4 separate regions of the Homo sapiens genome follow, and regions 2, 3 and 4 are each linked to region 1. Evidence: promoter capture Hi-C in 16 types of primary human blood cells and fetal thymus (Javierre and others, 2016). All regions are on one chromosome and are shown on one strand. Each heading gives the region's core, a stretch centred on a gene start or on the middle of the fragment in contact. The rest is flanking DNA. Distances are from core to core; before and after follow the strand shown. Region 1 holds the start of SLC15A4 (solute carrier family 15 member 4). Region 2 has its middle 42 kb from the start of LINC02418. Region 3 has its middle 46 kb from the start of TMEM132D. Region 4 has its middle 26 kb from the start of TMEM132D.

Region 1 (3,470 bases), core at 651-3,150:
ACACTCCTCACATGATCCGGCCCCAGCCTTCCACCTCACTTCCCACTTTTTTTTATATTTTCTGAAACGATCTGACTTTGCTATTGCTCTTAAAGGCGGCCTATTCTGCATATAATACTTGGTGGCCACGTCCTTGCCCCTCCTGAAGAGCTGCAGTGGTTCCTCCCTCACTTCTTGGCAGTTACAGTTGCAGGGGAGCAGCTTGATGCTAACTTGATTCAAACTCATTTTCATCTGAGCTTTCCGACCCAACCTAGCCCGTAACTCCTTTAAAGCCACGAAGACGCAATATGAGTGTTTTCCCACTTCTTTGTAAAGGAAGCTAAGGCAACAACGGGGGCTTCCCCTTCCCTCAGCTTCCTGGCCCAGGGCCCTGCACCTGCGAATCCCCATGTCTGGAAAGCTCCTCAAACAACTGCTCTTTCCTAGCCTTCTGGTCTGAACTTACAGGGCCTGAACATAGAAGGGTCCCGTTCATTTATTTTTTATTTATTTATTTATTTTTATTTGGAGACAGAGTCTCGCTCTGTCGCTCAGGCTGGAGGAGTGGAGTGGCGCGATCTCGGCTCATCGCACCTCTGCCTCCCGGGTGCAAGCGATTCTCCTGCCTCAGCCTCCCGACTAGCTGAGAGAACAGGTGCCCGCCACCACGCTCGGCTAATTTTTGTATTTTTAGCCAGGCTGGTCAGGCTGGTCTCGAACTCCTGACCTTAGGTGATCCACCCACCTCGGCCTCCCAAAGTGTTGGGATTACAGGCGTGAGCCACTGCGCTCAGCGTATTTTTTAAATTTTATTTATTTATTTTTTTGAGGTGGGGTCTCACTCTGTTACCCAAGCTAGAGTGCACTGGTGTGACCCTAGCTCACTGCAGCCTCCGAAACTCGTAGGCTCAAGGAATCCTCCTTTCTCTGCTAGGACTACAGGTGTGCGCCTCCACGGAGGGCAAATTTTTAAATTTTGGTAGAGATGAGGTCTCACTGTGTTGCCCAACCTGGTCTCAAAGTCCTGGGCTCAAGAGATCCTCCCGCCTCGGCCTCCCAAAGTGCTGGAATTACAGGCGTGAGCCACCGCGCCCGGCCTCTCTTTTCTTTAAAGCCACTGTGGCCATCACTGTGTGTGTAGACCTCACCCCGCCCCAGGCAAACCCCTTCCAGCACCCATCACACCGGTACCTCCAGTCTTGGCCCACCTGCTGGCGGGATTCCTCGGCACTAGACAGAAGCCCCCCGGGGCAAGGGGCTCCCTCCGCGGTCAGAGGCAGGGACTGGGGCAGGGGAAGAGGCTGGGGCTGGGCAGGGGCTGGACAGGGACAGGGACAGCGCGCGGGGGCGCGGCTCACCTGGTCGGCGCCGAAGGGCGTGATGTTGGCCTTGACGGTGGCCACGCCCAGGCCCACCAGCACCAGCCCCGCGAAGGTGGCCGGTGAGCAGCAGCGGGCGGCGGCGTCGGGACCAGGCGCCGTGCAGTTGAGCAGGCGCGCGGAACCGCAGAGCGCGGCTCGCGTGGCGGGCGCGGCCAGCAGCGGGAAGGCCAGCATGCCCAGCAGGTAGAGCGCCAGGCTCAGCAGGATGGCGCGCGCCCGGCCCAGCCGCGCGTCGGCCAGCCAGCCTCCGAACGGCGAGCCCAGGTAGGTGAGGCCCATGAAGAGCAGCAGCGCCTCGCTGGCCTGCGCGCCCTCCCAGCAGAACGGCGCCCCGTTCAGGAATAGCACCAGGTTGGACGTGATGCCGTAGAAAGCGGCGCGCTCCAGCAGCTCCGTCAGCAGCACGGCCCCGCACGCCGCGCGCCGGCCCGCGAACGCCCCAGCCGCCGCCGCGGCCGCCGCCGCCCGCCGCGCGCCCAGCAGCGGCGCCCGCTCGCCCGCACCGCCCCCAGAGCCCTCCATGCGACGCCGCCAGCTGCCTCGCCCCGCCGCCGGGTCACCTGTCCCAGAACCCAGGGCCGCCGCCCTTCTCGCGAGACTGCCGGGCCTGAGATGTCCCTATTGGGCGGGCTCGCCGCTGCTCAACGCCCCACTCGCCGGAACTTCCGGCCCCGCCCCGGGCACTAGGCGAGGAGGTGGCCGGTATTCTGGATCACTGCGTGTCTTGGGGAGCTTGGGATTCCGCAGCTTGGCGGCCGAGAGCCTTTGTTTGCCTTTTTGAGACAGGGTTTCCCTCTCTCGCCCAGGCTGGAGCGCAGTCATGCGGTTACGCCTCACTGCAGCCTCAGCTTCCCAGGATCAAGCGGCCCTCCCACCTCAGCCTCCCGGGTAGCTGGGACCGCAGGCGCTCGCCGCTGCCTGTGGCTAATTTTTAAACAGTTTTTTGAAATGGGGTCTCGCTTTGTTGCTCAGGTTGGTCTCGAACTCCTGGCATCAAGCGTTCCTCACGTCTCAGCCTCCCATAGTGTTGGAATTACGTGCATGAGCCACTGCAGGCAGTCGGACTAAGGGAGTTTAAACAAAGAAGCCGGAGCCTGGCCCTCTTCGGGCTTCGGTGGGGCCCAGTAGGCAGCCAAAACTCACACTGAGACGGCGGCTGCTCTCCAGGCGGGTTTGCTCAGGCTGCCCCCGTGCTCCCTGCCCTGGGCTTCAGTCCTGGAGAGGACCCGGTTTCTCAACCCGTGCATCGTTGGCACTTTGAGCGACGGGACTGTCCTGTGCGTTGCACGATGTTCAGCAGCAGCTTTGGCCTCTGCTATCCACTAGGGGCCAGTTCCACCCCCTAGCACCTCAGGTTAACAACCGAAAATGTCTTCTAGACTTTGCCGAAGGACTCCTGGGGGCAAATACGCCCCCATTGAGACTCACTGGCTTAGAACAAGGCAAGCTCCAGCCTGTTTCAGGCTTTCCCAGAGACTGCCCCTACACCATCTATGGTTGCATGGCTGGCTTCTCATCCTTCAACCTTCCACCGAAGTGTTGACTTCAGAGAAACATTTTTTTCACTAGCCTGTCCAAGGCCCGAGTATCCCATTCCATCATGTTACTCTTTTCTCCTTATTACCTGTTACATTTTTTAATTTATTCGTTTATCTCCCCAACCTGCATGTGTTAACAGGTGTAAGCTTCCTGATGGCAGGATTCTCTTGTGTTTTGTTCCTCACTGTGCCCCCTGCCTCTGGGACAGCGCCTGGCACATAGTGGAGTGAAAGAGTGCCGCCCAAAAATGGCCCTCAGCATGGCTTCAGAAATTGAGACCCCGGCCTGGGATGGTGGCTCACGTCTACAATCCCAGCACTTTGGGAGGCCGAGGCGGACGGATCACGAGGTCAAGAGATCGATACCATCCTGGCCAACATGGTGAAACCCCGTCTCTACTAAAAATACAAAAATTAGCTGGGCGTGGTGGCAGGCGCCTGTAGTCCCAGCTACTCAGGAGGCTGAGGCAGGAGAATCGCTTGAACCAGGGAGGCAGAGGTTGCAGTGAGCCGAGATTGTGCCACTGCATTCCGGCCTGGTGACAGAGTGAGACTTCGTCTCAAAAAA
Region 2 (3,470 bases), core at 301-2,800, 1.2 Mb after region 1:
CACCAGCCCAGACCTGTCCTTACATAGAGAGTTGAGGAGAGAACTTCACAAGCCATAGTCTTTCAATACACACCCACCATCCAATCCCCATATATACCAATCTCTTTAATACCAATCTCAGTGTAATTAACTCCAGCCACTACAGCAGATGAGCCTGAAACCTCAGTGGCTACAATAAATGTTTATTTTGTGCTCACATCAGTGTCAAATGCAAGCCACCAGTTCACAAGGGCAGAGGTTCTCCAGTTGTGACTCAAGGATCCAAGCTGTTCCCTGTGGAACACATTGCTCCCAAGTTTTCAGTAGCAATGATAGAAATAATTGGAAAAACTTGTAAAATGTTTTAAAGCATGGAAATCAATTGCATCTACAATGAGCAACATCGATTTGCATTACTGCAGAGAGGAAACATTTGTGTTGCTCTCAGATAAGAATCACATGCACTGCTGTATTCTCTAAGTGAACTTCTACAGTTTTAAAATAGTTCAGTCAATAGAAAGCCAACCACAGAGGAACACCTAAGAGTTAATTTTTGCCTATTAAGTTTTAAATATTTTTTATAACAGATATAACATTGAATCCATACTGAGGTTATTCACTTTTTTTTTCTTTTCTTTTTTTTTTTTGAGATGGGAGACTCACTCTGTCACCCAGGGTGGAGTGCAATGGCGCAATTTTGTCTCACTGCAACCTCTGCCTCCCAGGTTCAAGCGATTCTCCTGCCTCAGCCTCCCGAGTAGCTGGGATTACAGGCGCCCACCACCACGTCCAGCTAATTTTTGTATTTTTCATAGAGAAGGGGTTTCACCAGGTTAGCCAGGCTGGTCTTGAACTCCTGACCTCAGGTTATCCACCCACCTCGGCTTCCTAAAGTGCTGGGATTACAGTCACGAGCAACTGCGCCCGGCCTGGTTATTCATTTTTTAATTGCTTTTCTAGTCTAATAAATTTTTTTTTTTTTTTTTTTTTTTTTTTGAGACGGAGTCTGGCTCTGTCGCCCAGGCTGGAGTGCAGTGGCGCAATCTCGGCTCACTGCAAGCTCCGCCTCCCGGGCTCACGCCATTCTCCTGCCTCAGCCTCCCCAGTAGCTGGGACTACAGGCGCCCTTCACCACGCCCGGATAATTTTTTGTATTTTTAGTAGAGGCGGGGTTTCACTATGTTAGCCAGGATGGTCTCAATCTCCTGATCTCGTGATCCGCCCGCCTCGGCCTCCCAAAGTGCTGGGATTACAGGTGTGAGCCACCGTGCCTGGCCTTATTCTGATAATCAAATCAACAAGGAAGTCTCCTTTGGGAACTTGGGAAAATTAAGGGCCAGGCCTAGAATGGATTACGTCACTTCTGCCCACATCTCATTGGACAGAATTAGTCATATGACCTCACCCAGGTCAGGGCGAGGAATAGAGATGTGAGTTGCTGTCTCCACAATGAAACTCAGAGAAATGTAAGTCAAAGGACTTGTAGAAGGCCTCTGCTTCTTTACTTGTAAAGTGGAGGGAGAGAATGGCTTCATCAAAGATTCCTATTTGGGAATATGCATCAAAATGACCCAGAGAGTTTTTTTGAAATTCGGATTCCTGGATGCTGCCCTAAAAGTTCGGACTTAAAATAATCAGGAATGAAGTTTTTGCATTTCTGATGCCAACACCCCTGCCCAGCCCTTCTCAGCATGACTTGGGTTGAGAACAATTAAACCAGGTGAGTTCTAAACCTTCTTCCATTTTTTATGTTCTTTAATTCTGGGGTGCTCTTTTGGATCTATAGGTAGAAAAACACAAAGAGAGGACTCACTCTCAGGGATATTAAAGAGCCACTTCTTTGTCACCAGGTTCCCAAAAGATAGAGGTGGGTCTTAGGACTCTGTATCTCTGCCTAGCAGAGCCTCATTGAGATTTCTGCATCTGCTTTCTCTGCTAATCATTCTCTGGACCTCATCTTGTTTTTACATTTTGCTCAATTCACCAAAACTCTGTGCAGCATCTTGGTGCAAGCATCCTACCTAGGAAACCGCCCTCCACCTCCTTGCCCATAGTCTTTTATAGGACCCAAAATCAATCTGCATCCCCCTATCATTTCGAACAGCTCCACAATTATCAATATGCATTTATCCTCTACATATAAAATATTGAAATGTCAATAACGCTTTGTTCTATAAAACACAAGGAGTGCTTACGTATTTTAAGGTTCATAAAACTTTACTTGAATTGATAGATAACTGGCATAAAGTTGATAATAGCAGTGGTGCTGAATCAGAAGAAAATTGTGATTTTTTTTTATAGTGACCTGAGACGTTCTTCCTTTTCCTAGAGAAATTAGCCTGTTCTCTTTGACATTATCTTTAGTGAAATTAAACTACAGGAAATAAATAAATAACTGAAAATAAAAACAAAAGGAAGGATGAGAGTCAGGAAGGGGATGCGAGGGGTTAACTTGGAGCTATTGAGTAAGAGGAATTGTCTGGTTCCTGGGTTCCAAGGAGCCCTCTCTGGAAAATATAACCTAAGAACTAAAGGACGAGAAGACCTGAGCACGAAGAGTGATGCATGGGTGGTGGGGGCATGTGGGTCACTTGCTCTCATTCCTTTCCATCCTCACCCTGTTAATAATAAGGAGGAATCATCTGCGTTCTGCTTACGTGATGCATGTGGGAGACATGAAGCCCACCTCCCACAAGCTGCCTTTCCAAACCGGGACAACACTGGTTCTCTGGAATAGGTGAGAGACCAGAAGAGAGTGCTGGCATTTGCCATCCATAAAAACTGGGGATTCATCAATGATAGACTGGATAAAGACAATCTGGTACATATACACCGTGGAATACCATGCAGCCATGAAATGGAATGACATCATGTCCTTTGCAGGAACACGGATGGAGTTAGAAGCCATTATCCTCAGCAAACTAATGCAGGCACAGAAAACCAAACGCCACATGTTCTCACTTATAAGTAGGAGCTGAATGATGAGGACACACGGACACACTGGGGGGAACAGCACACACTGGGACCCATCAGAGGTGGGTGGTGGGGGGAGAGAGAGCATCAGGAAGAAAAGCTAATGGATGTTGGGCTTCATACCTTGGTGATGGGATGATCTGGGCAGCAAACCACCACGGCTCATGTTTACCTATGTAATAAACCTGCACATCCTCCACATGTAGCCCTGAACTCAAGATAAAGGTTGAAGAAAAAGAAAGAAAACCCAGAAATTATCTCTCAACTGAGTCAGTAACTGCTCCAGAGGCAGAGTCTTCCTTTCACAGCTGATGCCCTCAGATGTACCCTCCTCTTAGGAGGCTCCTGCTGGAAGAGCACAGATCCACATCATACTTGATCAGGACCTGGTGTCCATATGTTTATGAACTTCAGAAATCACGTGGAATGCACATCATGGACCCAAGGAACTGCCCATCTCAAAGCCAACATTCGCCTAATCTGCCACTGAGATTATTGTCTGCCTCTAACAGAAGACT
Region 3 (3,470 bases), core at 536-3,035, 1.1 Mb after region 1:
GTATTTGCTTCCCAATTTACTGTATTAGTCCATTCTCATGCTGCTATAAGGACATACTTGACACTGGGTAATTTATAAAGGAAAGAGGTTTAATTGACTCACTGTTCTGCAAGGCTGGAGAGGTCTCAGGAAACTTACAGTCATGGTGGAAGGGGAAGCAAACACATCCTTCTTCTCATGGCGGCAGCAAGGAGAAGTGCAGAGTGAAGGGGGAAAAGCCCCTTGTAAAACCATCAGATCTTGTGAGAACTCACTCACTATCATGAGAGCAGCACACAGGTAACCAACTCCATGATTCAATTACCTCCCACTAGGCCTTTCCCAAGACACTTGGGGATTAAGGGAAATAGAGTTCAAGATGAGATTTGGGTGGGGACACAGTTGGACCATATCATCTTACTAAGCCAAAGGCATTTTTCCAATCATCTGACATACTTTATTTGATTTTTGCAACTCAGTGAGGTAGGTAATGCTATTTTTCCCATTTAAAGATAAGGAGACTGAAGGCAGAAAGCTTAAGTAACTTCCCAGGGTCACCTAAGTAGAAAGTGTCAGGACAGGAATCCCAGGCAGGCTTTCTAGCTCTTGAATCTGTGCTCTGAGCTGCAATGTCATCCTGTCTCTTGCAGGGCGTCATCTGGTTGTATCTAACCAGGTGCATGAGACCGTGATCATCCCATAAACCAAATAACATACAGCTTAGGAATGTTTCTCTTCAATTCTTTTTTATTATCCAGTTCCCTTTCTATTGGAAAGTAGAAATAAGTGAGGCAGGTGGACTTAGAAGTCGTTTGCTGAAATTGGCCATGTGATGGCAGGGCATGGTGGCTCATACTTGTAATCCCAGCACTTTGGGAGGCCGAGGTGGGTGGATTGCATGCGCCCAGGAGTTCAAGGCCAGCCTGGGCAACAGGGCGAAACCCCATCTCTACAAAAATACAAAAATTAGCTGTGTGTGGTGGTTTACGCCTGTAGTCCCAGCTACTTGGGAGGCTCAGGTGGGAGAATCACTTGAGCTTGGGAGGTTGAGGCTGCACGGAGCCTTGATTGCACCACTGAGCTCCAGCCTGTGGAGTGACAGAGCCAGACTTTATCTCCAAAACACAAAAATAAAAAATTGGCCAAGTGAGAATGGGTTGGAGAACCCACAGCTCCTCTTCACTGGAGTCTCACCTTGCTTTGGGTGGCTTTGCTTGGCTTCCTTGGCAAACAGCCAGGTTCCAGTTCCTCCCTACAGTCCTTTCTTCCTGGAAAGCAATGGTTGCATTTTTCCATCCTGGGAAAGGTCCCAGGGCTCCCAAGAGCAGAGCAGTTGAATCACTGGGCCCAGACAGGCAGTAGTGCCTTCTCACTTCCTGAGGCTCACCGCTTCCCTTCTATGGATGAGAAAGGGGGACCCAGGGCCAAAGGGCTTCTCCCCAGGTCACCGTCTCACTCCCCTGGTGCCTGATAATTAATTCAGCAGCTGGAGCTCCTGTTACCACCAAAGATTCATTGAACTCTTCCACGTGGAGCTTGCAAGTCAACTGACAAGACACCTTGAGCTTCCCCCAGATGTTCGCATCCCAGGGTTCCGTCATTAGGCGGGACGAGCTCCGTGCTTATTAGTAGAAAAAAGAGCAATCCACTGAAAGCCGCAGCACCATCTGGAGGAAAATCGATGTCTCTATATTTAGGCCAGATGGGAGCAGCGTCAACGGAACCGAGCGGCACATGTTTGTACCAGTATGTGCCAACAGCACGCGTGACACCCCACATCTCATTTCATTATTTACCAACTTAGAAAAATAACGTGTAAGCCAGGCTACAGGCAGGGCCTGTTTATTGAGAATATGGACAGCAGCCCATGCAAATGACAATGTGAGACGTGACAGCAAACACCACCAACAGACAGTTACTGCCATACTATTGCAACTAAAACGCAATTTTTGGATTCTGTCTGGAGCTCTGTTTTAAGGCATGACTCCAGTGGCCAGTTTTTGCTTCCATAAATGAAGGGATGTTTTGTGCCAGACGTCATTGTCCTTCTGGCCCTCAATGGGGCCATTTAGAGCTTTGTGTCTGTTGTGTGAATGTTTATCTAAGCCCCAACTATTCTGGAGATATTTGTTAATTTATCCTGCATTCAATGCAAGAAATATTAATATGAACTATGAGTGAGGGAGCATTGCTAAGTGGACCACTGTATTTTTTTCTGTTCAATATTCATTGCCTGTATTTCTGGCAAAATAGTGTGTCAGTCTCTTTCTGGCAGGTTCACACCAACCATCATCAGGTCACATGAATGGGTTTCTTCATCCCTTGCATTAGAGGTGGTTATTGTGTCAGCCCATCAAAGCATCCCATTGCCTTAGCCATGGTGGGTTTAGTCATGTTGCATGGCCCAATGAGAGCTAAACAGGTGCAGTGAGACTTGTGCTGAGCTTTTAGGAGTGAGGCAGGTTCTTTCTTTGTCCTGAAGGGGAGAACATGTAGAGTTCTCCCCTGCAGCAGCCATCTTGTGACAATGAGGAGCATTTGGGGGAAATCAGACTCTGATGCTATTTTTTCCGTGCTCGTAGATTGAACCATACATAATATGAAGATGATCCATGGAGTTTCCAACTGTATGAACCACAAAAATCTCCTTTTCTTCTTATGCCAGTTGGAGTCAAGTCTCTTATGCAATGGAGACTTGTCTCCATTAGAAATTTCCAATGGAAATTTGAGCACCAGCCCAGTGATCAAAATATTCCTCCATAAGCAAAATAACTCTTGATATTAGTCAACTATGGATGGCCAACGTCAAAGAAAATAAATTATTCTGACACTTGTTAAAAATGATAGAAAAGGGGCCAGGCACAGTGGCTCATACCTGTAATCCCAGCACTTTGGGAGGCCAAAGCAGGGAGGATCATTTGAGTGCAGGAGTTCAAGACTAGTCTCGGCAACATAGTGAGACCCCGACTCTTAAAAAAAAAATACAAAATATTAGCTGAGTCAGGCATTAGCCTAGGACCAAAGTGAAGTCTGTGAGGGTCTGCCCTGGCCCTTGAGCTGAAGATATGATGGGAGAGACAAGCTTACCTTCCCAATGCTGATTTGAATGAGCCAGCAGAAAGACAACCAGAAGTGGCAATCACAATTTGTTCTCCTGAGAGACAGCCTGTCTTAAAATGAAGCCCGCATGAGGAAAGCAGTACTGAGGAATAGACAGTAGCACAGGTTTCTAACCACATCTTATGAGCCTCCAATTCCTACCCTCCCTAAAGCCAGGACTTTCTGAAGTCTACACTTCCCATTAAGTGAACAAGTGGATGATTATTTATTAAGCAAACTAGAGTTCATTGTCTATCATTTGAAAGTGAAAAGATTTTATTCGTCAACACATGAATATTTCAAAAAACTCAATAGTAACCTTAGATTTAGGATGATCAACTGGGCTGGTTTGTCCCTGAATCCTCTAAGTTTAGTGCTGGAAAATCTCACAT
Region 4 (3,470 bases), core at 521-3,020, 1.1 Mb after region 1:
AATCTGCATTCTTAAAAAGAGGGCTAAAGTGCGGTTCCTGCTCTCAGGCAGCTTACAGTCTAAGAAACATTTTTGTAAGAAATGATGACATGGTCATTTTTCGATAATGACAACGGCCACATATGGATTGCAAAACATGTATAAAATCACTTACCTTAATAAAAGCTATTATCACAAATGAAAAGTAATCCAGAAAAAAATAAATATTGATCCAAAAAGCAATGAGAAAAGTGTTCTATTTCATTTAGGGATGGCTAATTAACTCCTGGCAGTCTTCAAAGGAAGTGAAAATGACACACAGCCTCAAAATAATTAAACTCCCCCCACCCCAAATTAAACAATCCCATGAATAATTCACTCTCAAATATGTTTTCTAAAACAAAAATGAAAAACAAAGGTCTGTTTCCCAAATGACATCAGACATGCACAGAAAGCTCCCAAGATATCAAATTAAATAAGCGCCATTAATAAATAATTTAATTGCTTTGGCTAATGTGTGAGGAAGCAGCGTTTGCATCCCAAAAGCTTGGGGGCCTTCAGAGAAGTAAGAAAAGAAAGAAATTCAGATCTCATGGGGGCACAGTTTATATTATAATAGTGTATGACTATAATCATTACATTTCCTTTTTATATTAAATTATTATCTAATAACAAAACATCTGGGTGCTAATGAGGTTTTCAAAAGTAATTTTTCTTTCATCGTGTCCATTCCATGCAGGCCTCTGAGTTTCAAGCAGGGAATTGAACTCAGGGCTTCCCAGGCCCCCACACGGTGAATGAATTCTCTTCTTCCTGCCTCCCTCCATCCCGCACTACCACTGCGGTTGCCTCAGACAGCTCCCCTGCCCCTCCCCTCCATGCTCTGCTCTGCCTCAGTGATCCCGACCCTTGAAGCTTGCTTTCTCCAGGATGCCTGGCCTCCTGGTCTCTGACTAGGTTGGCCAGTGAGGGTTTGGGCAGGGGACTGGAAGGCAGGAGGAGGGACGCCTCATGGGCGGCAGTTCTTGTTAAGGAGTGTCACTCTCTGACCTCACAGTGTCCTCTCCCTGTTTCCCTGTTGTTGTCCCTCCAGCCCTTGCATGGCACAGGCTCCCTGGTTTCCTCACGACCTCTGGCATTTCGGCTCTTCCAGTAATTCTCATTAGTGGCCCAGTTAAGTCACCCCTGAAGGCACCTGGCGTGGACTCAGTTTTCCAGGTCAGACTCAGACTAAGGTGCTGATCCACCTTCCTCTTCCCAATGCACTCATTCCCCAGTGCCTCCAAATGCCTGACAGCAGACCTCTCTAGTTCCTGCCCTCACAAAACCTGTGTTTCCCCTGAATTGTGTCACTCTACTCAAAGTGACCAAAGGAAAAAAAGCAGTTTGGTTCATATCACCATACGGTTGATAGGAAATACGAGCTTCAGGCATGGCTGGATTCAGGTGCTCAATGAACTTCTTTTTATCTCTGAACAAACCCCTTCCAGAGCAGCCCGGTAGCCTGGGTGTTGCGCTCTTGCCCACCCTGACCCCGGGCCACTTCATGGTGCTCAAGGTTGTCTTCCATCTCCTAGGTCACGGGGATCTCCTTCAGGTCGCTGCTCTTCCGCACGCAGACGGAAAACTTCATCTGCTGAAGCTCACACCTGTGGAGCCTCTTAAATTTTCACCTGTGAGACAACCCATCAGTTTTTTGAGAGCTGGTTCAATGTACCTCCTCTCTGCCATCATCTCCATGCTGGCTTTGGATCAGCCTCTGACAGGATGACTCAGGATGCCAGGTCTTCTTCTTTCCCTTGAATCCTTGCCCCTTAGAGGTTATGAACAGGGAGCTTTCGTTACAGCTTAAATACCAGGTTTGTGATCTTGGACACGTTACTTAGAAGCTCTGAGCTTGATCCAGTCTATCATTGTTGGACATTTGGGTTGGTTCCAAGTCTTTGCTATTGTGAATAGTGCCGCAATAAACATACGTGTGCATGTGTCTTTATAGCAGAAAATTTGGCACATATACACCATGGAATACTATGCAGCCATAAAAATGATGAGTTCATGTCCTTTGTAGGGACATGGATGAAGCTGGAAACCATCATTCTCAGCAAACTATCGCAAGGACAAAAAACCAAACACCGCATGTTCTCACTCATAGGTGGGAACTGAACAATGAGAACACATGGACACAGGAAAGGGAACATCACACACCGGGGCTTGTTGTGGGGTGGGGGGAGTGGGGAGGGTAGCATTAGGAGATATACCTAATGTTAAATGACGAGTTAATGGGTGCAGCACACCAGCACGGCACATGTATACATATGTAACAAACCTGCATGTTGTGCACATGTACCCTAAAACTTAAAGTATAATAAAAAAAAAAAGAAGCTCTGAGCTTGGTTTCCTCATTCTTGCACCAAATTGTTCCTGACTTCCTACAATGTAGAAAGGAAAGAGTAGCCCATGAGATGACACAAATCATGCCTCAAAGCAGTTAATATTCTAGCAAGCTAGATAAGTAGTCATAATTAGCCAGACTTGTGATGCTATTAATTATTCAATTATTATTGTAAGAATAAATACAAGAGAGAAATACAGGAACATATCACAGGAGAAAGAAGATAATGTTTTTCTTCTGAAGCCACCATATTCTCCCTCATATCTTAAAACATCAAAGCTTTTTGTCACTTGTTAATGAAGGTGAGAAACTCAGTTCTGTGTATTGCTGCCTAATGGCTGAATTTGGTGTATCTCTAAACAAACAAACAAATAAACCCCTCAACCTAATTTCCATCGTTAATTCTCTCTGTGAAGGGGCAGGACTGCAAATGGCAGGGGGGAAGAGCTCTTTCATAATGATTGACGTAAAGGCAATTTTTTAAATTTTTTAAAAAATAAGTGGGTCATCCTTCCTCTTCGCATCAAGAAAATTATTTAAGCCAAACATCAAATGTTAACTTTCGCCATTTAATGTTTCACTCACAAATGAAACTTTCATCATCCAACACAAACTGCGTAAGGAAAACGATAATTTGTTAAACCACGGAACTGAGAAGGCTCAGCTCTGTCTGTAGGGCCGGCTTCACCTGAGCTCAAACAATGTCATAAACAGCTGCTGTCTCTCTCCCTGTCTTAGCTGTTCTTCTGTGCAGACTCCACGCGCAAACAGGCTCTCTCTTTCCCAACGTGCGGTGACCACAGAAGCCTCAGCCCCGTGTGCTCCCATCTTTGTGTCCAGGGCTGTCTTCTCTGAAGGTTCTTGCAAAGCCCTGGGCCTCGCTCTGATTGGACCAGCATAGGCCTCATGCCCGTGCCTGCACTTGTCCCTGTGGCCAGGAAGACACTGTGCTTTTCATCCAGGCCTTGGTCTTTCATCCCTAGACCACATCTACTGAAACTGACACCAGGCTAGATCCACAAAATGTGGTGGCTGTTGCTGAAATTTGGCAGTTTAGATCCTGGGAAGGCAAACCAAAATTAGCTACCCAACCTCAAAA

Evidence for each region. Contacts are between HindIII fragments. The CHiCAGO score rates a contact against its expected background, and 5 or more counts as called.
Region 2: a contact is called between a fragment that was not itself captured here and the fragment with the promoter of SLC15A4 in region 1, in 1 of 17 cell types (M2 macrophages). The highest score is 5.3, in M2 macrophages.
Region 3: a contact is called between a fragment that was not itself captured here and the fragment with the promoter of SLC15A4 in region 1, in 1 of 17 cell types (M2 macrophages). The highest score is 7.6, in M2 macrophages.
Region 4: a contact is called between a fragment that was not itself captured here and the fragment with the promoter of SLC15A4 in region 1, in 1 of 17 cell types (M2 macrophages). The highest score is 8.9, in M2 macrophages.

The regions. Positions count from the first base shown.
Region 1 is chr12:128,822,058-128,825,527 of GRCh38, forward strand. SLC15A4 (solute carrier family 15 member 4) reads right to left here and starts at 1,901. Exons shown (of 8, transcript NM_145648.4): 1 at 1,341-1,901. The coding sequence starts at 1,886. LOC124903083 (a long non-coding RNA gene) reads left to right here and starts at 1,887. Exons shown (of 2, transcript XR_007063602.1): 1 at 1,887-3,470. RefSeq lists enhancers at 1-31, 92-171, 1,652-1,811. The HindIII fragment of the contact is 5,029 bases long and covers 1-3,047 here.
Region 2 is chr12:129,998,199-130,001,668 of GRCh38, forward strand. No RefSeq gene overlaps it. Among named protein-coding and RNA genes, the nearest start is that of LINC02418, 42 kb to the right of the region's middle. The HindIII fragment of the contact is 6,986 bases long and covers 1-3,470 here.
Region 3 is chr12:129,948,170-129,951,639 of GRCh38, forward strand. No RefSeq gene overlaps it. Among named protein-coding and RNA genes, the nearest start is that of TMEM132D, 46 kb to the left of the region's middle. RefSeq lists an enhancer at 1,491-1,660. The HindIII fragment of the contact is 2,547 bases long and covers 513-3,059 here.
Region 4 is chr12:129,928,764-129,932,233 of GRCh38, forward strand. No RefSeq gene overlaps it. Among named protein-coding and RNA genes, the nearest start is that of TMEM132D, 26 kb to the left of the region's middle. The HindIII fragment of the contact is 1,756 bases long and covers 893-2,648 here.